Linked DNA regions of Homo sapiens: all the other regions are linked to region 6. The links are contacts of gene promoters, found by promoter capture Hi-C in blood cells and fetal thymus (Javierre and others, 2016). All regions are on one chromosome and are shown on one strand. The core of a region is centred on a gene start or on the middle of the fragment in contact, and the rest is flanking DNA. Distances in the headings are between cores, read along the strand shown.

What was found. Contacts are between HindIII fragments. The CHiCAGO score rates a contact against its expected background, and 5 or more counts as called.
Region 1: a contact is called between a fragment that was not itself captured here and the fragment with the promoter of ING3 in region 6, in 9 of 17 cell types (naive CD8 T cells, total CD4 T cells, total CD8 T cells and 6 more). The highest score is 17.4, in naive CD8 T cells.
Region 2: a contact is called between a fragment that was not itself captured here and the fragment with the promoter of ING3 in region 6, in 2 of 17 cell types (activated CD4 T cells and naive B cells). The highest score is 5.1, in activated CD4 T cells.
Region 3: a contact is called between a fragment that was not itself captured here and the fragment with the promoter of ING3 in region 6, in 4 of 17 cell types (naive B cells, naive CD8 T cells, total B cells and 1 more). The highest score is 7.8, in naive B cells.
Region 4: a fragment that was not itself captured here is called in contact with the fragment with the promoter of ING3 in region 6 in 8 of 17 cell types (non-activated CD4 T cells, activated CD4 T cells, total CD8 T cells and 5 more); the score reaches 14.7 in non-activated CD4 T cells.
Region 5: a fragment that was not itself captured here is called in contact with the fragment with the promoter of ING3 in region 6 in 1 of 17 cell types (non-activated CD4 T cells); the score reaches 6.7 in non-activated CD4 T cells.

The regions. Positions count from the first base shown.
Region 1 is chr7:121,391,094-121,394,761 of GRCh38, reverse strand. All of the region lies in intron 1 of FAM3C (FAM3 metabolism regulating signaling molecule C), which reads left to right. Among named protein-coding and RNA genes, the nearest start is that of FAM3C, 3.4 kb to the left of the region's middle. The HindIII fragment of the contact is 2,734 bases long and covers 86-2,819 here.
Region 2 is chr7:121,370,779-121,374,833 of GRCh38, reverse strand. It overlaps FAM3C (FAM3 metabolism regulating signaling molecule C), which reads left to right. Exons shown (of 10, transcript NM_014888.3): 4 at 2,695-2,724; 5 at 3,411-3,534. Among named protein-coding and RNA genes, the nearest start is that of FAM3C, 24 kb to the left of the region's middle. RefSeq lists an enhancer at 1,857-1,906. The HindIII fragment of the contact is 1,693 bases long and covers 1,759-3,451 here.
Region 3 is chr7:121,351,297-121,354,818 of GRCh38, reverse strand. All of the region lies in intron 8 of FAM3C (FAM3 metabolism regulating signaling molecule C), which reads left to right. Among named protein-coding and RNA genes, the nearest start is that of WNT16, 24 kb to the right of the region's middle. The HindIII fragment of the contact is 1,388 bases long and covers 1,100-2,487 here.
Region 4 is chr7:121,438,925-121,442,866 of GRCh38, reverse strand. It overlaps the pseudogene RPL18P4. Among named protein-coding and RNA genes, the nearest start is that of FAM3C, 45 kb to the right of the region's middle. The HindIII fragment of the contact is 190 bases long and covers 1,492-1,681 here.
Region 5 is chr7:121,412,078-121,415,967 of GRCh38, reverse strand. No RefSeq gene overlaps it. Among named protein-coding and RNA genes, the nearest start is that of FAM3C, 18 kb to the right of the region's middle. The HindIII fragment of the contact is 2,464 bases long and covers 616-3,079 here.
Region 6 is chr7:120,948,354-120,952,286 of GRCh38, reverse strand. It overlaps ING3 (inhibitor of growth family member 3), which reads right to left and starts at 1,510. Exons shown (of 12, transcript NM_019071.3): 1 at 1,363-1,510; 2 at 1,052-1,123. The coding sequence starts at 1,390. RefSeq lists an enhancer at 888-967. The HindIII fragment of the contact is 9,487 bases long and covers 1-3,933 here.

The DNA.
Region 1 (3,668 bases), core at 203-2,702, 440 kb before region 6:
AGAGGCTACTAGTAGTCTCTTGTGTTTCTTGGCTGTTTACCAATAAAGTCACAAGGTTTTCAGTTTTATACAGGTATTAGAAGCTTTGTTTCACAGATTCTTGTAATGTTTTCTCAACTCAATAAAGACTAGCATTTCTTCATAGGAAGAAATAAGAAGAGTTGGAGCCAATAAAAGGAGTTCAGTCCAGCAGTTCTCAACCTGAGGACCTCTCTGAATTACCAATGGGAACTTTGTAAGAGGGACACAGGACAGGTTCCTCAAAATCCTCATTGTAAGGGGCTTCTGTTTCAAAAGGGAGTAAAAATAAGACACTACTGGCTTAAAGTGACTTTAAAAATAAACTTAATGGATGTTTTATTACAATTACAGATTTTTAATGTGGATTGCTGCCTTAAGCATTGTCAACTAATCTTTCATAATTTATGAAGATACATTAAAAAGGAAAAGGAAATTGGAAAAGACAGCCAAAAGGCTAAGAGGCTATGGAATGGCAAAAAGTAATGTTCCCTGAGGGGGTATCAGAAGACTCATATATTTTCCACCATATATTTTAGGTTTTGAACGATTCATTTTTCAAAAATTTTTATACTCTTAAAAATACTGGAGTGCCTACCATGTACCAGTAATTGTAGATATCATGGATACTATGAATAAGACAGCCTGGGCACTCACAAAGCTACTTTATTTTCTCTAAAGCAGGGAATCTTTTTTATTTTTATTTTTATGCCCATTTCTTAAAGCTGAAAGGTGCAAGACCCAAATAGCAAAAGATTTTTATGTTAGCGCTGAGCTAGATAGATTTTTGTGCGACCTTGGTATAATAGCAAAAGTTTGTCTTGAATTTAGTCCAGAAGCGTCTCTGTTCTTGGGATCAGATGATCAGGATTTGAAGCATTGATTCTGTATTTAGTTATTTCAAGAGTGGCATTGACTAAATTACTTAATATCATGCAGTCCTTTTTAATCTGATTGAGTAGACTGAACCAGGTAATTTCCCAAAATCTTTGAACTTTTAAAAGGTTTTGTACTTTCTTTTAATGCAATTCTTTGAGACACAATCGGCTGACTTCCTCTCAGAGGAGGAAATTAAGTGTTGTAATACCCCTAAGTCTTTCCAGTGTACCCATTAATATTCTTTTTCTTCTTCATTGGCCTGCTCCATTTGATTGAAGCTATTCTTATATTTCCCTTATTTTTAATCTAATTTTGAAAATCCGCTATTCATGATTTTTCTAACTTCAGTGAGTTTTTTCTTCCAATTTTCTTTTTTAAATTAAATTCCTGTAACAGAATTTTTCATTTTATTTTTAAATTATTTACAAAGACAGGGTACCCCACTGTTCTGCAGACTGGAGTGCAGTGGTGTGATCATAACTCACTGTAGCCTTGAACTCCACCTTAGCCTGTGGAGTAGCTAGGTTTACAGGCATGTGCCACCACACACGACTAATTTTATAATTTTTTTTCTTAAAAGACGGGATCTTACTATTTTGCACAGGCTGGCCAAATCTGCCCTCAGGTGATCCTTCGACCTCAGCCTCCCAAAGCTCTGGGATTACAGACATGAGCCCCTATGCCTAGCCAGATTTTCCATTTTAAAGTGTGGCATTTAGCACGTTCATGATGTTATGAACCGTCACGTTTCTAAAACATTTTCATCACCCCAAAAGGAAACCCCATATTCATTAAGCAGTTGTTCATTCCCTTCTCCCTGCCAATCCTCGGCAACCACTGATCTGCTTTCTGCCCCCATAAATTTATCTATTCTGGATTTTCCTAAAAATTGAATAATTCAATATGTGTTCTTTTGTGTCTGGCTTCTTTCACTTAGCATGTTTTAGAGGTTCGTCCTCTAAATCAGCAGGTATCAGTACTTCATTCCTTTTTAAGGGTGAGTAATATTCCATTCTATATTCCATTCATATACACCACATTACATATATATCATTTCGTTGATACGTACTGCATTTTGTTTATTCATTTGTTAAATTTTTGTGTGCTATTCAGAAAGTTATATGAACATCTCTAAATTGATTTTCGTCATAATCTCTACAAGGCTTGCTAAGGTAGTGTTATGGTGTCAGGTGTGCTACCTAACATATCATTCATTACTTGCAGTTAAGTGATTGTTAAATGAGTTTTGAAAGACGCAAGGTCAACAAAAATGGATTTTTAAGTTGGTTCAGTTGATACGTGGTGTGGTTTGGTTCTGCGTCCCCACTCAAATCTCATCTCAAATTGTAATCCCTGTGTGTCGAGGGAGGGAAGTGATTGCATCATGAGGGCGGCTTCCCCCATGTTGTTCTCGTGACAGTGAGTTCTTACAAGATCTGATGGTTTTACAAATGGAAGTTTTTCCTGCACTCTCTCTCTTCTCTCTCCTGCTGCCTTGTGAAAAAGGTGTCTGTTTCCCCTTAGCCTTCCTCCATGATTGTAAGTTTCCTGACACCTCCCCAGCCATGTGGGACTGTGAGTCAGTTAAACTTCTTTCCTTTATAGGTTACCCAGTCTTGGGTATTTCTTTATAACAGTGCAAAAACGGACTAATACAATACGTTTTCACAAAATTTTACAATAGAAGCATCTTTAGAGTTTATTTGAACAAACAATTCATGAATTGAGCAGCTCCAAACCAGATCTGGGAGCTCCACCAGGGGAATCCAGGAGGGAGGCTTTTATAGGAGGGTCACAGATGTAAAGCAAAGAAAATATTTGATTGGCTGCAGTTATACAGTTGTTTTATTTGGTCTGTCGTGTTGGAAGGTCCCCTAGATATGTAATTAGAAGTTTGTTGGATGTTTCTGATTGATTAAGCTTAAGTTCTCTTTTTCTTTAGCATAGGCATTTATAAGAAGTAACTTCATATTTTGCTTATGTTTGCAAATCAAGTGAGGTTGATGTCACTTATGAGGCCTAATTGGTTTTGTCTGCTCGGGGATTCTTCAGGCATGGTTTCCATTTTAATTTACTTCAGCAGTGCTAATTCTCATTCAGTTTTTGTGGTACAAATGGTGTGCCAATACTGCATTTCATCCAGGACCCTTGGGCGATGGAACCATTCTGTTTCTCCATGTCTTCATTTGGAGGGTGTGACTGATGGAATTATGTCTACCCTGGTGCACTTAAATTCTGCAGACTACTTCAAAACAGCATAAGTAGAGTGGATACCTAAGGGAATTCTTAAACACGTAGAACAGGAACCTATAACTTCTCATCTAGTACAATGTGAGATAGTTACATGAGATGAAGATAGCAGTTCTACTGTATGTAAATGTGTACCTTTCTCTAATCTCATTTTAGCAGTTTATGAGTGGGACACTTCATTACCCCATTTATGTTCAACCTCTAACAGTTAATATATTTCATTTTATTGTTGTCATTGTTTCTAAGAATAGCTATTTCTTTCTGTCCATCCATTCATTCATCTATCCATCTCTCCCTGGATGGTGTACTATAGGATTAAGGTAGCTTAGATCACAAGTGTTTAAACAATTGTAGAACTCATAGCAGGCAAAACTGAATGTCATTTTGTAGAGTTCTGTCTTGTTTTCTGTTTTGGGTATGTTTGTGGTCTTGGTTGCAGAAATCCAGTCACCATTTCATTTCGTTAAGTGGATTATAACTTTTTAAGCAAAATTCTGCTTTGGTAGATAATAAAAACTGCA
Region 2 (4,055 bases), core at 1,356-3,855, 420 kb before region 6:
TTTATTTCTTGATTTTTCCTGATGTTAAGAACCTGCAAAGTGTTTTTGTGTGCATTTTAGCTATTTGATTTAGACATTATGAGGGCAGATGGTTATTTTGATGTCAAAACTGAAGTGTAGTACTTTGTAACCTTACTGGTTGCCAATCTGTTGAATTGGCCAAAATTTAATTGTGTGGTTTTATTTTAATTCTCATTTCAGACTATCTTAACGAAGATGGATATATGGTTATCTTCGTCATTTGTTTAACATCTTAGTATATGAAAGGTTAACATATTTAATCCAGTAGGAGGATTCTTGCTATAATCACTATCTTAAGGACCCATAAGATTAAATAGTTCTTTTGGTGATTCGTTTTCCATTTTTTAAACTTACTTGACAATTTCTATAAATTATGTAGCTTTATATTTATTATATGGTATTATTTTAGAAAAATAAAACACATTTCTAGAAAGGAAGAATGAAAATTTTGCCTACAATTAGTAGTTGAAATTACCAATGTCGATTATGAATTTTTAAAAACAATTTTTTATAAAACTTTATTTTGAGATAATTGTATTGTTTTTTACAAATCCATTTGAATATACAGAGAGATGGTGCATACTGTTTACTCAGTTTCTCCCATTGGTAATATCTTGCAAAACTATAATACACTATCACAATCAGGACATCAACATGGATACAATTCACCAATCTTATTCAGCATTGTGGTGTAATGTAGTGTTGTTTTCAGTTTGAATACTTAGCTAGTAAGTGAACTGAACACAGTCCAAATTATTTTTGTCTATATTGCTGCAATAAGTACTTAATGTTCTTTTTTTTTTTCTTTTTTTTTTTTGAGACGGAGTCTTGCTCTGTCGCCCAGGCTGGAGAGCAGTGGCACAATCTCGGCTCACCACAAGCTCCACCTCGCGGGTTCACGCCATTCTCCCTGCCCACCACCACGCCCGGCTAATTTTTTTTTTTTGTATTTGTAGTAGAGATGGGGTTTCACCGTGTTAGCCAGGATGGTCTCGATCTCCTGACCTCATGATCCACCCGCCTCAGCCTCTCAAAGTGCTGGGATTACAGGCGTGAGCCACTGCACCCGGCCATAAATACTTAATGTTCTATTGAATTTATTTATTTTTACCTTTTCAGATTTAAACCATTGGTATATAGTATATACATAAATTACTTGAGACATTATTAACAACTAAAGTGCAAAATAGTTCTGATTCATTAGCCCGACTTACTGAAGGACATTCATTGATGAAATGCAATAACAAATGTTTATTATTGTTCCATGAAATGAAGTGTATATGCAGAAAGAAATTAAGCATTGAAGCTATCAGTGTAGTTTGAGGGGAAAATAGTTGTAGGAGAGGAGGGATTTTGGTGTTTGTATGTTGTACCTGTATTCTATACTTGGACAGCTGTTTATGAAAACTAATGTACCTGTTTGGCCACCAGGTGCTAATGTTTTCAGAATTGCAGACTTAGTACAGGGCTTTTGATTTTGATGTGTATTGGATAAAAATGAGCTTTCTTCTGGAAAGAAAAGTCTTTCACAGGAGTTTCTTCACCTTAAAGTATCTACTCCCCTTACTGTTACACAAATTAAATGGAGGTGATGTTATTTACTTAAAATCCTGATTTTAAGTAGTTAAAATCCTGACTTTAAGTACTTAAAATACTTAAAAAACTGATTTTCCCAAAATTATATCCCAGTAAAGTGTAGATAAGGTTTCTTTTCTGCTTTGTTCTGGGCATTAAGCTTTTTCAATGTTATTATATTACCTTTATGGCTTTAATGGTGCATAATATTCTACTGAGTGTTCTATTGAGTTAATGAGCTTTTATTTACTTGGTCATTTTCCTCTTTTTAAACATTTCAATACAATCTTTTAACTTTCAGCTTACTAGTTGGAGTATTGGACCTACAGGAAGTTCACAATTATCTAAAATAGTACAGAACTAAAAACTGTGTGACTATTTATAGCAAGACAGCTGGTTAACATTTATCACACTGCATACTTATTAGTCAAATCAGGAAATGGCTGTCCACAATACTCTGATGATCTGAGTTATAATCTCCTGGGCTGGGATCAGATGTTAGTGCTTTTAAAAAGCCCTACTATAATTATGATAGATGGTCAGGTTGAGAACTACTACATTCAAATTAAGATTTGACCTCATGGATTCCTTGAACTGATAAATTGTAAATCTTTTAGTAATGATCTTCCTCATCCCCCTCCCTGGCCCTCGCAATCTCCTAACCTCACCACTAAGATAGATTCATGTATATTCTCTGGGGCTTTCTTTGCGTATCTGTACAACACCATACAGCAGCAACAACTTTTAAACACCATCATATTCACCAAATTTATATTTATAAACATTGAAAGGTAAGTTTGTAGAGTAACTTCCTGATTGAAATTTAAATATATAGTAACTAAAATTCAAAACAAAATGGTAAGGGAAAAATAAAATGTTTTATCAGTAGTAAAATACTATCCTCCATAATTATTTAATAGTTTATAATGAATGTACAGTGTGAAGTTACTTTCTCACTTTTTCTTAAGTGATATTCATGTTTTATTGTATACTGAATCATTATTTGAACACTTATTTTTGTGGACCTAAATATATTTTAAAAGTGGATACTTGCCAATAGACTCATTCCTTCTAACAAAAGTAATTTTTTTTTTTCAGCAAGATCAGCATTGGACACAGCTGCACGTTGTAAGTATTTCATCTCAATATTTTATGTATGATTTATTCTGCCTTAGGCATATGAGAGCTTATATTCAAAGTGTCAGTAGTTCAGTATGAGGAAAAACTGCTTTAGAAATTGCTTTTTAAAGTTATGAGGATGCTATTTGATTGGACAGCCCAAATATTTTTGGCAATTATTCATGATGGATATTTTGTGTTTTTTAGCTCCGTTATTATAAGTACAGAAATTGGTGTGAGAAGGAGTTAAGAGTGTACATGGGCAAGGTAGTCAATGGAACATTAGGCCTTTTTTAATTATCCTGGAGGTGACGATTTTTTGTGCATATATGGACTAGAAGTGCAAAGTAACATTCAGAACCCCCCACATCCTAAAATTTAAAAATAAACTCATAGTTAGATAAAATATATTTGCCCTAATGCAGATCATATTACTTGACTCATTTGCATCCATTATTAGTTTGTTTCCTAGGAAGATCTGGTGTCTGTTGTGGGTTTCTTTGTTGCTGTTTTTTTTTAAAAAAATTTTTTGAGGTTCTTTGAAACCCTCAGGGGAACAAATTAGCTTGTATTTTAAGATACGTGTATCTTGATGTTTTTCTTAATGCTCTTTGTGGTTTGAGATTTGAAGTAAAGTGAGGTAAAGTCTGTTAACTTGTTTTCTAAAAAAAGACATCATGTTTTCTCCCCCAAAGCTACAAAGCCTCCCAGATATAAGTGTGGGATCTCAAAAGCTTGCCCTGAGAAGCATTTTGCTTTTAAAATGGCAAGTGGAGCAGCCAACGTGGTGGGACCCAAAATCTGCCTGGAAGATAATGTGTAAGTCTTTGTTGACTTGAGACGATAAGGTGTGCTATTAAATTGCAGCCAATTGAACCTGAGTTTAATGGATATTTTGAAAATGTGTTCGGTATACTTTATTAATGGAAAGTGATTTCCATTTTTGTTATGTAGTTTTTTTCTCATGAATTCAAGGGACCTTAAAGTTCTTAAATTTTATATTAGAGAGTGACTAAGAACGTAACACTTATTCGGCTTTATAGAGATAAGAGATTTCCTCTGAGTAAATTCTCTAGATCTGCACTGTCCCATTTGCTAGCAACAGAACACATGTGGCTATTTAATTTTGATCCTTAAATATTAGGAAGAAAGTTAATTCACTTAAATTAACTAAAAAGTTCAGTTCCTTGGTATCTGTCACCGCAGTTCAGGTGTTCAGTGGCCACATGTGGTTCATGGTCACCAAATGGAACAGCAGAGAGAGCATTTTCATCGTGGCAGAAATCCTATTTGCAACATTGCCCTGGACAATGAATGTGTTCTCTTTATTTTAAATGAAA
Region 3 (3,522 bases), core at 544-3,043, 400 kb before region 6:
GTAAAGAGTCGTATTCCCTCATAAAAATTTCTAATCCGAACTTTGTATAATATGTTCTCTTTAAAGTCTAGGCTGGGTCGTCATTTATGCCTTATATAGTTAGCATTTCTTACTCTTCAACGCCCTGAGGTAATATGGCGATTTTCTTCCAGACTTTCTCCTTCCCAGCTTGTTCTTCCCTATTAATCAGAATTGAGCCATTAATATTGTCCGTCTTGCTTTCTGTGCTTCCAGAAAGGCAGCATTGGCTTGGTTTGATGGTGCAACTGTAGGACTATCCGATGTGCCTCCTTTCCCAGCAAGGATTGAGGCAGAACCCACAGATTCCTGTGTCCAGTTCCCACTTCCTCCCTTTCTAGTTTAGATTGCCTCTGGGCAGCATTAGATTGTCTTCTAGCAAAACCTGATACCGTTCTCTGTCTATCCTGGTTTATCACAGGATAATTTTCTGTTCATTTTGAAGAAAATTATTCACTAAAATAATATATTTGACATAAATTTTTAACTCAGCTAGTTAAGACCATTAGTAAGGATTAAAATATATGTAACAAACTCAGAGTGCCCTATGTGGAATAAAAAGCTTGTATCTCCAACCTTTATGCTATATAAAAATATATTTGCTGCCCTGGCTTTTTTAAAAAAGGGGCATTTTGACATTTCCTGTATATTCAATTAAATACTGGCTATGTTACATGATTTTAAACTTTTGAAATATAAAGATTTTTTTTACTTAGTTACACAGAAGATATCTAAAAATAATAATAAAATAATCAACCAAATTCTACATAGGCAGATCAGAAAGTGTTAGAAGTCATTGACAAAGTCATCTTGTTATAAAACTGTAGTTAGATATACACAGGGCTATGTGTTAGACGTCCCCCAAACCACTCCCAGTTTTGACAGTTCTCCAGTAGGTCTCATGGTTGTGATTTGTTAAAGCAAAAATACACAAAGCAAAATGAGCAAAGGGAAAAGGTTCATGGGACAAAGTCTGGAGGGACAAAGGAGTCTTCTCCCAAGTGGAGTCAAACAGGACATGCTTAATTCTTCCAGCAACCAGTTAGGACAACACATGGGAAATGTTGTCTGCAAGGAAGCTTATTAGGGACTCAATGCCCAGAGATTTTATTAGGGGCTGGTCATGTAGGCACCCTCTGCCTAACCTGTTGCAAAATACCAGACTCCCAGAGAGAAAACAAGTGTTCAGCATAAATTGCATTGTTTTTGCCCACAGTTTAGACACAATGAACCATTCTTATCAGTTTTGAAAATGATAGGAGCCCTCCGCAAATCCAAGTGGCCAGATAGCCAAGGGTCAGTCTTGCTAGTAGGCCTTTCTAAGCTCAGGCCTGCTATGTTAATGCATATCTGCACAGGATCTCAGTATCTTCTAATGGAAAAGCAAGGAATAAGATTAATGGAGTTAAAACATAAAGCTCAATCTTTAAGTTTCTCCTTGATCTCTGGCTTGATTGTAAATCAGCTTGGTTTATTCATACAGATCATAATGGTCACTTCTGAAATTCAGGAGTACAAAAATAAGAATGCCTGACTGCCCTTCAACATATTTCTTAGTTGGTGCAAAATTCTTGGATAAGATTTTACTTTTGGCAGGGAGCTGGACCTGCGTTTGGATAACCTTCTATTTTGCAGGGAATTTTTCCTGTGTAAAGCAATCTCTTAACATTTGTGAACTTCACATTCATCATTTCAGCTGTTTATGAGCCACCCTAAAGGCCTGTGAGGTATCAATTCATAATTTTTTTGAGATGTAAATGTGAATGGAACCCCAAAGCCTCTCTGCAGGAGGCAGTCCATTTAGCTGACCACTGAGCCTACTGCCTGTGCTCTAGACATTTCAATACTATTTATTCTTGTTACAGCAGCAAAACTCATCGCTAGTGCTGATGATGCAAGTGTAGACTTCCATAAGGTAGTTAGAAAATAGAACATTTGGATAAACTACGCAAGTGGAATTTGACAGCCTTTTAGATCCATGGCATCCCAATAACATTTGGAAACAAGAAAACAAGGTTCAGGTGATAATTTTGGGGCATTTCCCTCTAGCACCAAAGTTGGTTATCAAGTGAGCAAACAAGTGGAAAGTGATGGATAATTCATGTAAGGATGGGCACAGGAAACGAAGCTGCAGAGGAACTGTGGAGGGAAAGCCAGTGCATATGCACAGATTTCATGTGAAGGCCTCACAATCTTCACAGAGGCTGAGATTGGTTCTTCTGCACAGTCATTTCACTTCTTTTTAGTTCACTTGGCTATAAATGTACCACTTAATATAGGAGGCGAATCTGAAAGGCTAAATGCTCCACAGGCTATGGCTTATTTTCTTGCTGATTCTAGTGAACTTCCTCCAGGTGGACAGCAGTGCCCAGGCTGTGGCCAAAACAGCTCCACAGCCCCCACGGATGTGGTGGGCATCAATCATGAAAGTTTAATGATATATGTAGTTCTTTCCTGTTTTATGAAGCTTTTTTAAAAAAACCATAAGAGTATCCCTTTTTCTTTAGTTAAATGAGAACTGTTCTATGTAGTGTTTCTTTCACTAAGATATTAAAGGAGCTACTTGATACTAGCATGAGAGGTTTGAAAGAACACTGTAGAATGAATAAGTACCTTCCTCACTGACTTTCCTGCTGTTTGGAAATATAAACTTGCCTTGCCTCAGGTTTTAGCAGAACAAACCTCTCTAAGTGACCTGTTAGAGCTGTCTTTTGCGCAGTATATAGGACTCAATGCCAAATATGTGTACAAGTAGCCCTTAATTTTTTCTTCTTCTTCTTTTTTTAAGCTCTATAGCTACCATTTATGTTCTGAGTTTCTTTTCTCCTTAGAGATAAAGGAGAGAAAATCATTGACCATTAGGATGATCACTTACACAAAATTTTTTAGGGACATCTTTCAATTAGTAGTTTCCCTGGTGGTTGACTTCTGTCACTGCTCCACCTCCTGCTAGTAGGCATTTAGCTGCTGTGTGGTTAATATTTTCATTTTTATTAAGTAACCACTTGGCAGTTATCACTGAAGTACAATTTATATATCTGTTCTCAAAATTCATTTTCTTTTAAATAAAACATAGTGTTAGAAACATACAGATTTTTGTCAGCATTTACCTTTATTCTGGTCAAATGTAATTTACAGAGGGTTTAGTGGAGATTCAAAAAGATTAATTTTATAAAAATATTGATTGCTTAAGACCTTGGATAGCCTGGATAGGCATCTACTAACTGTGGTATCCCTTATTTATTTGATGAGTGTAATTTAAAAAGTTAAATGAAGGTGAATTGTTGTGAAATAAAAACCTAACAGGTCCTTTTAATAGAATAAACTTAAAATTAATTGTTGGAGTTCATGTCTTTTGTCACTAAAGAATTCAACCAGTAGAAATGTAACTCTGAAAAAAAATTATTTTCCAAAATGTTCTGTTATTTAAAGTCTCATTTTGTCTCATGTTTTGTGTTAATATCCCAGTGAACCAGTATTAGCATACAGTTCCCTCTGTTTATT
Region 4 (3,942 bases), core at 337-2,836, 490 kb before region 6:
GGCCTGCAGTAGCTTCTTGGGGTTTCTACCTCTGATCCTCCCTGCACAACTGTAATGTAACATGCTGGCTTCCAAAAGTGTAATTACTTATGTTTTTTTAACTACAATTATTCTCTTAAGAGCATCTATATAGAGGGGAAAAAGGAAAATTAACCAACCAAACTTAAGTTTTCCCTTGAATTACAAAAAAAAAAAAAAATTAATGATTATTCACTTTATAGAAGCAAAACTTTACTGTGTCTTAATATGACCAAATAAAAACTTAACCAAAAACAATAAAAATAAAAATAAAAATAAACCAGGGCCGGGCACAGTGGCTCACACCTGTAATCCTAGCACTTTGGGAGGCCAAGGTGGGTGGATCACCTGAGGTCGGGAGTTCCAGACCAGCCTGACCAACATGGAGAAACCCATCTCCACTAAAAATACAAAATTAGCCAGGTGTCGTGGCAGGCACCTGTAATCCCAGCTACTCAGGAGGCTGAAGCAGGAGAGTCACTTGAAACCAGGAAGCGGAGGTTGTGGTGAGCCGAGATCTCACCATTGCACTCCAGCCTAAGCAACAAGAGCGAAATTCCGTCAAAAACAAAACAAAACAAACAAAACAAAAAACAGTTCATTAATGACTGTACTACCAATAGATTCATTACCATGCTAGAAATGCTTCATTTACTCCCCATGGTAAGTGCTGTAGAACAACACTACACTATTAAAGAGACTGAAATTGCATTAATGCGGGCTAAGATACTAGTTAGCTCTTTTGGCAAATCACTGGATTTGTTTGTATTGAACTTACTGTGAACAAAATCCCTGGCTTTTTTCCCACATCTTAGGCCAGTCAACATGGCTCTTTCAAAACATACCTGAATATAATTGGTTTATTTGTGTACACTTTTTTTATTGGCTCCACACAAATGTGCTACCTAGGATGCTAGAAACAGGTGGGTTGTCTTTCCTGTGTCTGTATTTAGGCCTTTATAAATTTCTATATATGTAAACTGTCCTCTCCTTTTAATATCCATCTATCTCTCCCCACAGATGACTAATAGAAACCTTATCCACCTTCAGCTGAAAAGCTCCCTTCTCTCTTTTTCTTTATTTTACGATTTTGTGCAAAAGCCCATTACCCACCCCTTAAAACTCTCTGAAATTTTGATTCTACCCATCCCAAGCTCATCTCTCCCTATGCAAAATCCTTCCCTCTATGACTCTCTTTGGCAACAATGCATTTGTAGGAAGAAGACAAAATTCCTATTAAAAAAGATGACTCAAGCTTGCTTCCATAATATAGGTCAGCCATATCCTGATGATTTTGTTGTTTAGTTTCATTTAGTTAAATGTAGGTAGGCCCTAGAGCTCAGTTAGAATTGGAATGGTTGAGAGAATGAAGAAATAAAATTCTTTGCATAATTAAGAATTGTTAAAAAAAAATGTTCCCTTGGAAGACAAGGGAGACAAAGAATTGGGGATCCTAGGACTGGAAGAGAAGCTTTAGAAGAAAGATTTAAATAGAGGGCAAGAAAGCCCTGAGGGGAAAAAAAGAGAAAGTGAAAGTAAGAATACCCCTCTGATAAGGATATTTAGGGCACTTTAAAAAAAGTAATAGTGCTGAAGAGGTTGTTTATGAGTGCACCAACCAGCCACCTCTGTCCCTTTCCCGGATGATCCCGAAAATGAAGCTTCCTGGCCAGGAAAACAAAACGGCCGTGGTTGTGGGAACCATAACAGATGACGTGTGGGTTCAGGAGGTGCCCAAACTGAAGGTGTGTGCACTGGGCGTGACCAGCCGGGCCCGCAGCCACATCTTCAGGGTGGGGGGCAAGAACCTCACTTTCGACCAGCTGGCCCTGGACTCCCCCAAGGTCTGCGGCACCGTCCTGCTCTCAGGTCCTCGCAAGGGTCGAGAGGTGTACTGGCATTTCGACAAGGCCCTGGGAACCCCACACAGCCACACCAAACCCTACGTCCGCTCCAAGGGCCGGAAGTTCGAGTATGCCAGAGGCCAAGGGGCCAGCCAAGGCTACAAAAACTAACCCTGGATCCTACCTTCTTTTTTCTTTTTTTTTAATTTTTTATTATTATACTTTAAGTTCTAGGGTACATGTGCACAATGTGCAGGTTTGTTACATATGTATACATGTGCCATGTTGGTGTGCTGCACCCATTAATTCGTCATTTACATTAGGTATATCTCCTAATGATATCCCTCCCCCCTCCCCCCATCCCACGACAGGCCCCAGTGTGTGATGTTCCCCTTCCTGTGTCCAAGTGTTCTCATTGTTCCATTCCCACCTATGAGTGAGAACATGCGGTGTTTGGTTTTTTGTCCTTGCGACAGTTTGCTGAGAATGATGGTTTCCAGCTTCATCCATGTCCCTACAAAGGACATGAACTCATCATTTTTTATAGCTACATAGTATTCCATGGTGTGTATGTGCCACATTTTCTTAATCCAGTCTATCACTGATGGACTTTTGGGTTGGTTCCAGGTCTTTGCTATTGTGAATAGTGCCACAATAAACATACGTGTGCATGTGTCTTGATAGCAGCATGAGTTATAATCCTTTGGGTATATACCCAGTAATGGGATTGCTGGGTCAAATGGTATTTCTAGTTCTAGATTCTTGAGGAATCGCCATGCTGTCTTCCACAATGGTTGAACTAGTTTACAGTCCCACCAACAGTGTAAAAGTGTTCCTATTTCTCCACATCCTCTCCAGCACCTGTTTCCTGACTTTTTAATGATCGCCATTCTAATGGTGTGAGACGGTATCTCATTGTGGTTTTGATTTGCATTTCTCTGATGGCCAGTGATGATGAGCATTTTTTCAAGTGTCTGTTGGCTGTGTAAATGTCTTCTTTTGAGAAGTGTCTGTTCATATACTTCACCCACTTTTTGATGGGGTTGTTTTTTTCTTGTAAGTTTGTTTGAGTTCTTTGTAGATTCTGGATATTAGTCCTTTGTCAGATGAGTAGATTGCAAAAATTTTCTCCCATTCTGTAGATCGCCTGTTCACTCTGATGGTAGTTTCTTTTGCTGTGCAGAAGCTCTTTAGTTTAATTAGATCCCACTTGTCAATTTTGGATTTTGTTGCCATTGCTTTTGGTGTTTTAGACATGAAGTTCTTGCCTATGCCTATGTCCTGAATGGTATTGCCTAGGTTTTCTTCTAGGGTTTTTATGGTTTTAGGTCTAACATTTAAGTCTTTAATCCACCTCGAATTAATTTTTGTATAAGGTGTAAGGAAGGGATCCAGTTTCAGCTTTCTACACATGGCTAGCCAGTTTTCCCAGCACCATTTATTAAATAGGGAATCCTTTCCCCATTGCTTGTTTTTTTCAGGTTTGTCAAAGATCAGATGGTTGTAGATGTGTGGTATTATTTCTGAGGGTTCTGTTCTGTTCCATTGGTCTATATCTCTGTTTTGGTACCAGTACCATGCTGTTTTGGTAACTGTAGCCTTGTAGTATAGTTTGAAGTCAGGTAGCGTGATGCCTCCAGCTTTGTTCTTTTGGCTTAGGATTGTCTTCACAATGCGGGCTCTTTTTTGGTTTCATATGAACTTTAAAGTAGTTTTTTCCAATTCTGTGAAGAAAGTCTTTGGTAGCTTGATGGGGATGGCATCGAATCTATAAATTACCTTGGGCAGTATGGCCATTTTCATGCTATTGATTCTTCCTATCCATGAGCAGGGAATGTTCTTCCATTTGCCTGTATCCTCTTTTATTTCGTTGAGCAGTGGTTTGCAGTTCTCCTTGAAGAGTTCCTTCACATCCCTTGTAAGTTGGATTCCTAAGTATTATATTCTCTTTGAAGCAATTGTGAATGGGAGTTCACTCATGATTTGGCTCTCTGTCTGTTATTGGTGTATAAGAATGCTTGTGATTTTTCCACATTGATTGTGTATCCTGAGACTTTGCCTAAGTTGCTTATCAGCTTAA
Region 5 (3,890 bases), core at 598-3,097, 460 kb before region 6:
AGACTGAACCCAAATATTAACTATGTGTTTGGGGTGATGATGTATTATTGTAAATTCATCAATTATAACTGTATTGTGGGATGTTGATAATGAGGGATCTTGTGCATGTGTTGGGGATGGGGATATATGGGGACTCTGTATTTTCCTTTCAGTTTTACTATGAACCTAAAACAACTCTAAAAAACAAAGTCTATTAAAGATTGATTTTATTGTTTGTTTGTTTGTTTTTGTTTTTTGTTTTGTTTTGTTTTGAGATGGAGTCTCGCTCTGTCGCCCAGGCTGGAGTGCAATGGCATGATCTCAGCTCACTACAAGCTCCGTCTCCCGGGTTCACGCCATTCTCCTGCCTCAGCCTCCCGAGTAGCTGGGGCTGCAGGTGCCTGCCACCACGCTGGGCTAATTTTTTGGTATTTTTAGTAGAGACGAGGTTTCACCATGTTAGCCAGGATGGTCTTGATCTCCTGACCTCGTGATCCGCCCACCTCAGCCTCCCAAAGTGCTGGGATTACAGGGGTGAGCCACCGCACCCGGTCTAAAGATTGATTTTAAAAATTGAAAATGATACATTATATGATGTGTTGGTAAGCTAGAGGTTTACATTTCTCTAGGGAAGCTTGGAAATGAAATAGTGATAAATATATAGAAAACTAATCAATTTTTTTAAAAAAACTAGGAGGAAAATTTAAAAAGAAAGAAAATACATTTGGTTCAGATTCAAACATTGCTTACATACTCATAAATACTAAATACTGATTTAATTCCTTTTAGTATTGTGTTTTAATGTTTTACCTTGATAAATTGGGAAGATTGAAACTAAATGAAAAATACCACTGGTATAAGTACATCAGAAAGACATGTGGAAGCGAACTCATGTGTGTGTGTGTGTGTGTGTGTGTGTGTGTGTGTGTGTGTGTTCAGGATGGCTTCTAGTTGATAATACCAGAAGAAAAATTGCTAAAAGCATTGAAAAATCTAATAATTAGTGATCACAATATTTTTTGAGAAAAATGATTATTGTGTTTATTATAATTGAATTATAATAGATTTGTCAAAAAGGTTTTCTAACAAAATGAAAGCAGAAGATTATGGGCTAAGCAGCCTAAATCTAGCTAAAGTGGGCACTATGAACTCAGCTGTAGGTACTGAGAGCAATAGCAAGCAAAGACACTATGGATCTGTATTTTTCAAGAACAGGAATGTTTCTAGAAGGAAAGATTAAAAAAAATTGCAACAGACTGAATATGTCCCCTCAAGTTCCCATATGTTGTAAACCTAACCTGCAGTGAGATAGTATTAGAAGGAGGGACTTGGGAAGTAGTTAGGTCATGAGAATGTAGCTGTTGTAAATGAGATTAGTGCCCTTATAAAAGAGGCCCTAGGGAACGCTCTCATCTTCTTCTCTATATGTGAGGATACAAGGAGAAGTTGGCAGTTTGCAACCCAGAAGAAGACCCTCAACAGAACCTGACACCACTGGTACCTTAATCTCAGACTTCTAGCCTCCAGAGAAATAAACATCTGTTGTGTATAATCCACCCTGTCTATGATACTCTGTTGTAGCAACCTTAGCATACTAACAAATAGTAGCCACAAATTTGAGAAGTCACTGGACTAAAGCCTGAGGTGAGGAAGGCCTAGCTGCTGATAAACTCTATGAAAAGTAGACCTTGACTATAGGTTGGAAGAGTTTTTCTAACATGAAAAGTTTGACATTGAGATACTTGACATAAATATCAGGATTTCTCTATGAAATGAAACTTTAATGGTTATTAAGGTGTGATGGGTTAATGTGATGGGTTCATGATGACTCTTTCAAAGATACATCCACATCGTAATCCCCAGACTCTGTGACTGTTGCCTTATTTCTAAAAAGGGTATTTGCAGATGTAATTAAATTAAGGACTTTGAGATGAGGAGATGATCCTGGATTACCTTGTAAATCCAGTTGTAAATGTCCTTACAAGAAGCACACAGATGAGAAGGCAAACACAGAGAAGAGGCAATGGGAAGACAGAGACAGAGGTTGGAGTGATGTGGCCATAAGCCAAGGGAGCCAAGGAATGCCCCCAGTCACCTGGAGCTGAAAGAAGTAAGGAAACATTCTCTCCTAGAGCCCCAAGAGGGCCCAAGCCTGTCAATACATTGACTTCAGACTTCTGCCCTCCAGAGGGAAGAAACCTTTGTATTCAGCCACTAAGTTCACAGTGCTTTGTTACAGAAGCCACCTGAATCTATTAATAAGGCATTTTATATATATATATATATATATATGTATATATATATATAAAATGTAGGGCAAAAAATAAATATTAGGCATAGGAGGCAATGCACACACACACACACACAAATTAGGATGGGCAGTGGGGATGCAGGCTATGACTATGTCTGTGATATTCCTTCAAACTCTTTAAAATAGATGGTAAGGTAGCTTTTAGTCTTCCTTTGTGACTCCTGCTATACTTTTCCTTTCAGGCAAAAAGAAAAGAGATAGAGATAGAGATAAATATAGATATAGAATGGATATAAATAAATTTATATCAGCATCGATTACATTTACACAGGTTGATTCTTAACTTTTTTGGAGATATCTAATTAAAACACCTCACCACCATACTGCTATTTTCCATCTATTTTGATGTGAATTTGCTCTTTTGTGTATAATATGGTTAAAACAAATCTGACAAATTACTTTAAATGACACTTTAGTGGTGATATTTCTCAGCACATATTTGTATTTTATTAAGGGACTACTGGAAACAATACAAAAAAAAGGTTAATTGCTTATTTTGGAGTTTTTCTTGGATTTCAACTTTAAAGAACAGAAATTCAGGTCAGCAGGGACAGTGCCATCCTCAGGTTTCGATAAAGTGGAGGTCATCATTCCAATTTCCCTGCTGCAGTTTGTGTTTAAAAAAAAGATATGTGTGTGTGTGTGCGTGTGTCTGTGTGTGTCTGTATGTGTTGAAATATTTTATCAGTGAACTGAAATTTATTACTAAAAGGAAACTGTAGGTGTTATTAACCTCTCTTTCCCCCCTTCTTTTTTTATTTCTTCCATATGGAAGCAGAAAACAAAGCTTATAAAAATCATAACTTCAAGCAATTCCAATAAATTAGCATAGTTTATAGCAGAGTAAACCTTCTGATTGGTTATATACTTTAAACTTAATTTCATTTTTCCTCATAAGAAGACACGAGCTATGAGATAACAATTCTTTTTTCTGTTTGTTACTAAAATCTAATGTTTTGTGATATTATAAAATCCCTCTCCATTTTGATTTCTGAGGGTTAAAAAGATATATTGTGTTAGCTTAATCCATTGCCTTTCAAAAAATTATAACTGTGTAAACCAAGAGTAGAATTAGAGTCCAGAAGATGATATAAATTTGTATTTACTCTTCCCTTAATACACGCTTAGGCCAATGACAAGTTCACCTTCCTTCAGGACCCAGAAGACTCTTTCCCTGAGCCACCCTTCCTCCTTCATTTTCAATTAGATCTCTTCCATGTATGGGTCTTGATCTCTATTTCTGAACTTGCAAAGTTTAGCAAAGCCTCCTACCCTGGAACCTACCATTTTGGGACCCACTTTACCCTCAGTTCTTCCCAGTTTTAATGTAAGCTCTTTGAGGACATAGACTTTTCGTATTTCTCTCTAAATCCCCAAATCTCAGAACTGTACCTGGCACACAAGTAGCAATTCAATAAACATTTGTTTGGTGAATAAATTCTCACAGGCATTAGATTGAAGTAACTAAAAGACAGAACTTTCTTCTGCTAATTATCACCATTCTTTGCTTAAAGATTTCAAGGGATTCGAATAAAAAGGACAAAGAAGGTGAAAGAGGACGAAAATTCCATCCTACTAGAATAGTAAACCACTTCTGGGA
Region 6 (3,933 bases), core at 261-2,760:
GAGTAAATTAGTAAAGCCCTAAAACAAACTCAGATCTGACATCAATGTCTGTGCTCAGTCCTGCAGAGAACACTACTTCAGCAAATCTTCAGCATTTCAACTACACTAAAATTAAAATGAATTTGTGAGATAGCTGGAGAACCACACACACAATTCATACTTCATATCACAATCCACTGAACAGAAAGTGGCTTCCATGCCACCACTTTTTATTATGTGCCACCTGAAACTTACCGGAAAAATATACTCATAAGCAAAGGGTATAGAAGTGGGTGTGTGGTCATGGGCAGAGAAGCCAGGAGCAGTGAAAAGGACAGGTTCTTAGCTGCAGCAGGTGGTCCCTGAGCCACCTATTTATAGTCGTTGCTCTATGAAAGAGCAAAGTTAATTTGGGGAAAAAGTCCTAGAGACTACCAAGCTATCACTGAAAGAAAAAGAAATGTTCATTAACTGCTAAAATTTTTAGTACAGCACATAAGAAACTTTACAGTGAAATCTAATTTCTGTCACTCATTTTAACCAAGAAAATGACGATTCTGTTACAATTTAAAATGTATCTAATGTGTAACTAAGTTTTCAAAATTTGACATTTGCCATGGTCTCTAAAGAGCTATATATAACCTCTGCTTCTGTGCTTTCCACTCTTGAAAAACTGTGAATAGGATGAACTTTAAAATAAGTATAAATGCTGAAATCTAAGTTCGATACGAAAAGGCTCAAGACGACATCTCAACATTTATTATGCTGACGTCCATTGAAACATAGATAACTATGTCAATGACGGTAGAGAAATATTTTTTGCACAATCCCACATTCTAGAAAGGAATACACGTGTCCCAATGCCTCCTGCTCTTGCAAAAGCCAGAAAAAAGTAGCATGGGAGGGAAGGGGAAGGCGAGATTCAGGGCTGCCAGTTCTTTTTGACAACTCCTTATGCACTAGCGGAGTGAGCCAGAGGACAGTGAAAGAGCACTAGGCGCTAGCAGTGATGACAAGCAAGTCTGGCACTGAACGCGCGCAGCGAACAGGAGTAGTAGACGCGCCGACTTACTCTGCACCTGCAGGTCCATCTCGCGCATTTCCGTGAAGCGGTCCCGCAGATCCATAGGAAGCTGCTCAATCACTGTCAAAGGGAGAGTCCGTCAGAGGGGCGGGGCCAACGGCGAAATACGCGCTTACGTCACTGCGCGCGTGCGTCAGGGGGGTCGAGGGGGCCGGCAGCCCACAACGAGGCTGCCAGTTACCGTGAGAAAGAAACATCCCCCGCCGCCCCCTCCCTCCCGCCATCTCGCTGCCCGTCCACTCGCGCTCTTGCCCGCCCGCACGTCCCACTGGCGGCCGCCGCCAGCGCCGCGCACTCACTTTCCAGATAGTCTTCTAGGTACAACATCGCGGCCCTTAGAGCTGAGGGAACAAGGGGGTCCAGGGGTTTATTTGTGTCACTCGCTGTCGCCGGAGTTTTGTCCCCTCCAATATGGCGCCTCCGCTAGCAGCACCCGCTCGACTCCGGCAAAAAAAAAAAAAGAAAAAAAAAAAAACCACTTTGGCGCCTGAGGCGCTTGCCTCACTGCCGCCCGGAGCTGCTATTGGTTGGTTCAAGCAATGACGTAGCCCGGCCGGTGTTCGCCCCCGTGCCTCTGTGGGAAATGTAGTTTTCTTCCTCCTCAGCGAGGGTTGGCGCGCTGGCGGCTCCCCTCGCAGAAACTACGAATACCGGGCGCCATTGCAAACAGTGCGTAACAGAATCCGAAATGCGGTGCCTCTGTTTATTTGTTGATTTTTGCACAGAGAATGGCGGGAGTTGTATGCACCTGCATAACACAACTAGGAACAACTTTTCACCTGTTCTTTGATGTGATTCCATGCCCCGGCGTTTGTGAGTTATGGGTTTCAAGAAGTGCCAGGCAAATAGCAAAGGTTCTAAACACTAGAATAATCAGCAAAGTTCGGGGAATTTGGATTGCTTAAAATAGAACTCTCTACTGGAATTTATCCTCATTATTCACTCTAAAATATAAAAGAGACACCTGGTTGGCTTACGTGTAATTTTAAAATAGTTTATACTGAGACTATGGAGTGAATATACATTTCCCAGATTAAAAGATGCACAAATAGTGTCAGTAGCCACTTATATATTCTAGTTTGCGGTCCATCTAATCGTCATTCTAATGTAATTGATCTATACATACAATCTGCATCCGCAAATAATAATAATAATAATCTTCATCATCACAGTGAGCAGCCATGAATTACGGATGCAGCCTTGATTTCTAATAGGCTGTTAATAGCAGTAACTTTATGTTGAGTAAATAGTCCATATTCGAGGTTGGTTGTCTTCGGCGTTCTTTAGTTTCTACTTTTCGACCTCTCCCAGCAAATGTTTTCCTGTGATATATTTAGTACGTCCCTACTCAGTTTCTTTTTAAATTGTTTTTTATTAAAAACTCTTGCACTCAATAAATGCTAGATATTGTTATTTTCCACTCTTCTTAACTTTTCGATTTTCTGGGGAAATTGTCATTAGTTCATAATTTATTGTTCATTTTCTGTTTTTCAAATTGCAGTTGAAACTGTGTGTGTGTGTTTCTTGCTTTCCTTCTCCATTACATACTCTTGTACTCAAGGTTTTCACTGCTCTTAAGCAGGAAACTTTCCTGTCGTGAATGATGAATCATGATGAATCTCAACGGAACCTTACTTCGATCCTAATAAGAATTAGAATTTTATAGTTTCTAGTTAAGTTTTTCATTACTTCCATCGAAAATCAAGTACTTTCGATCTTTTTCTCCCTTCTTTTTTTCCTCCTTTCTTCGTTTCCCATCCTTCCTTCTTCTGGCTGCTTTTAACATCTCTTTGACATCTTTTTGCAGTTTTGTAGTGATCTAAGTCTGAATTCCTTCCTTATTCCCTTTTCTTTCCTTAAAATTTTAAAATTATGCTTAGGATTTGAGGGGATTCCTGAATTTCAGGATTGGTGCCCTGCAACAATTCTAGAAAATTCTCAGCGTTTGTCTTTTCAGTATTGCTTATTTCTCATTTTTTCCATTAAGACTTTCTCTCTTTATTCTCTTATTTATCTTAATCTTTCTTTTATATGTTTTATTTTAGAATTTTCATAATTTTTCAGGTTTGGAAGTTCTATTCGGTTCTCTTTTCAAGACATCTTATAATTTCTTATACAAATTATTTAGTCTGTATCTTGTTTCTGTTAAACCTAATATTGAAACATTTATGGGCCTTTTAGTGCTATTTCTTCAGAAATGGGCACTTTTACTCATGGTGGCTTTTTCCTGTTGGGTTGCGATTTTGGACTCTGAATTCCTGTTTCTGGGATTACAAGCATAAGGATTCTTTGAGCTGGAGTTGAAATTGAGTTTTCATGGAGAGCATTAGAATTTGCTTGTCAGTTTGTTTGGAGACATCATAAACCCCTAGGACCAGATTAAATTGTCCCCTTGAGGTTTATTGTATTGCACAGATAGATTGAATTTGGGCCTCTATCCCAAATGGATTGTTACAGATTCTCAGAGGAGAATTTTTTTTTCTTTCTTTACTGGGCTCCAAGGCCAAGACAGACATGTTTCATTACTGGCCTATTCTGTGCATGAGGCTTATATGTCATTTACCCTTACATGGAGAGTATAGTCCATTGGGGCCCCAGATTTTTGTCTGCTGTAAGACTCTTCCTTTTAAACTGATACTTGGGTTTATCTTCTGACCCTGGCATGCTGCACAGCTATTAAAGTAAGAGCTCTAGGTGTCCAGAACTTGACAGATAGTCTCTGAACAAAAGCCTACTTTGGCTTGCACTTATTTCTCAGGATATTTTCATTTTCCTTCTTTTTCCCCTTTTATATTCGTTCTGAAAATTCCTTAATTTCCTACTAGTTCATCAGTGTATTTTTTTAAATCTAGCACTTTTAGTTGTTTTTG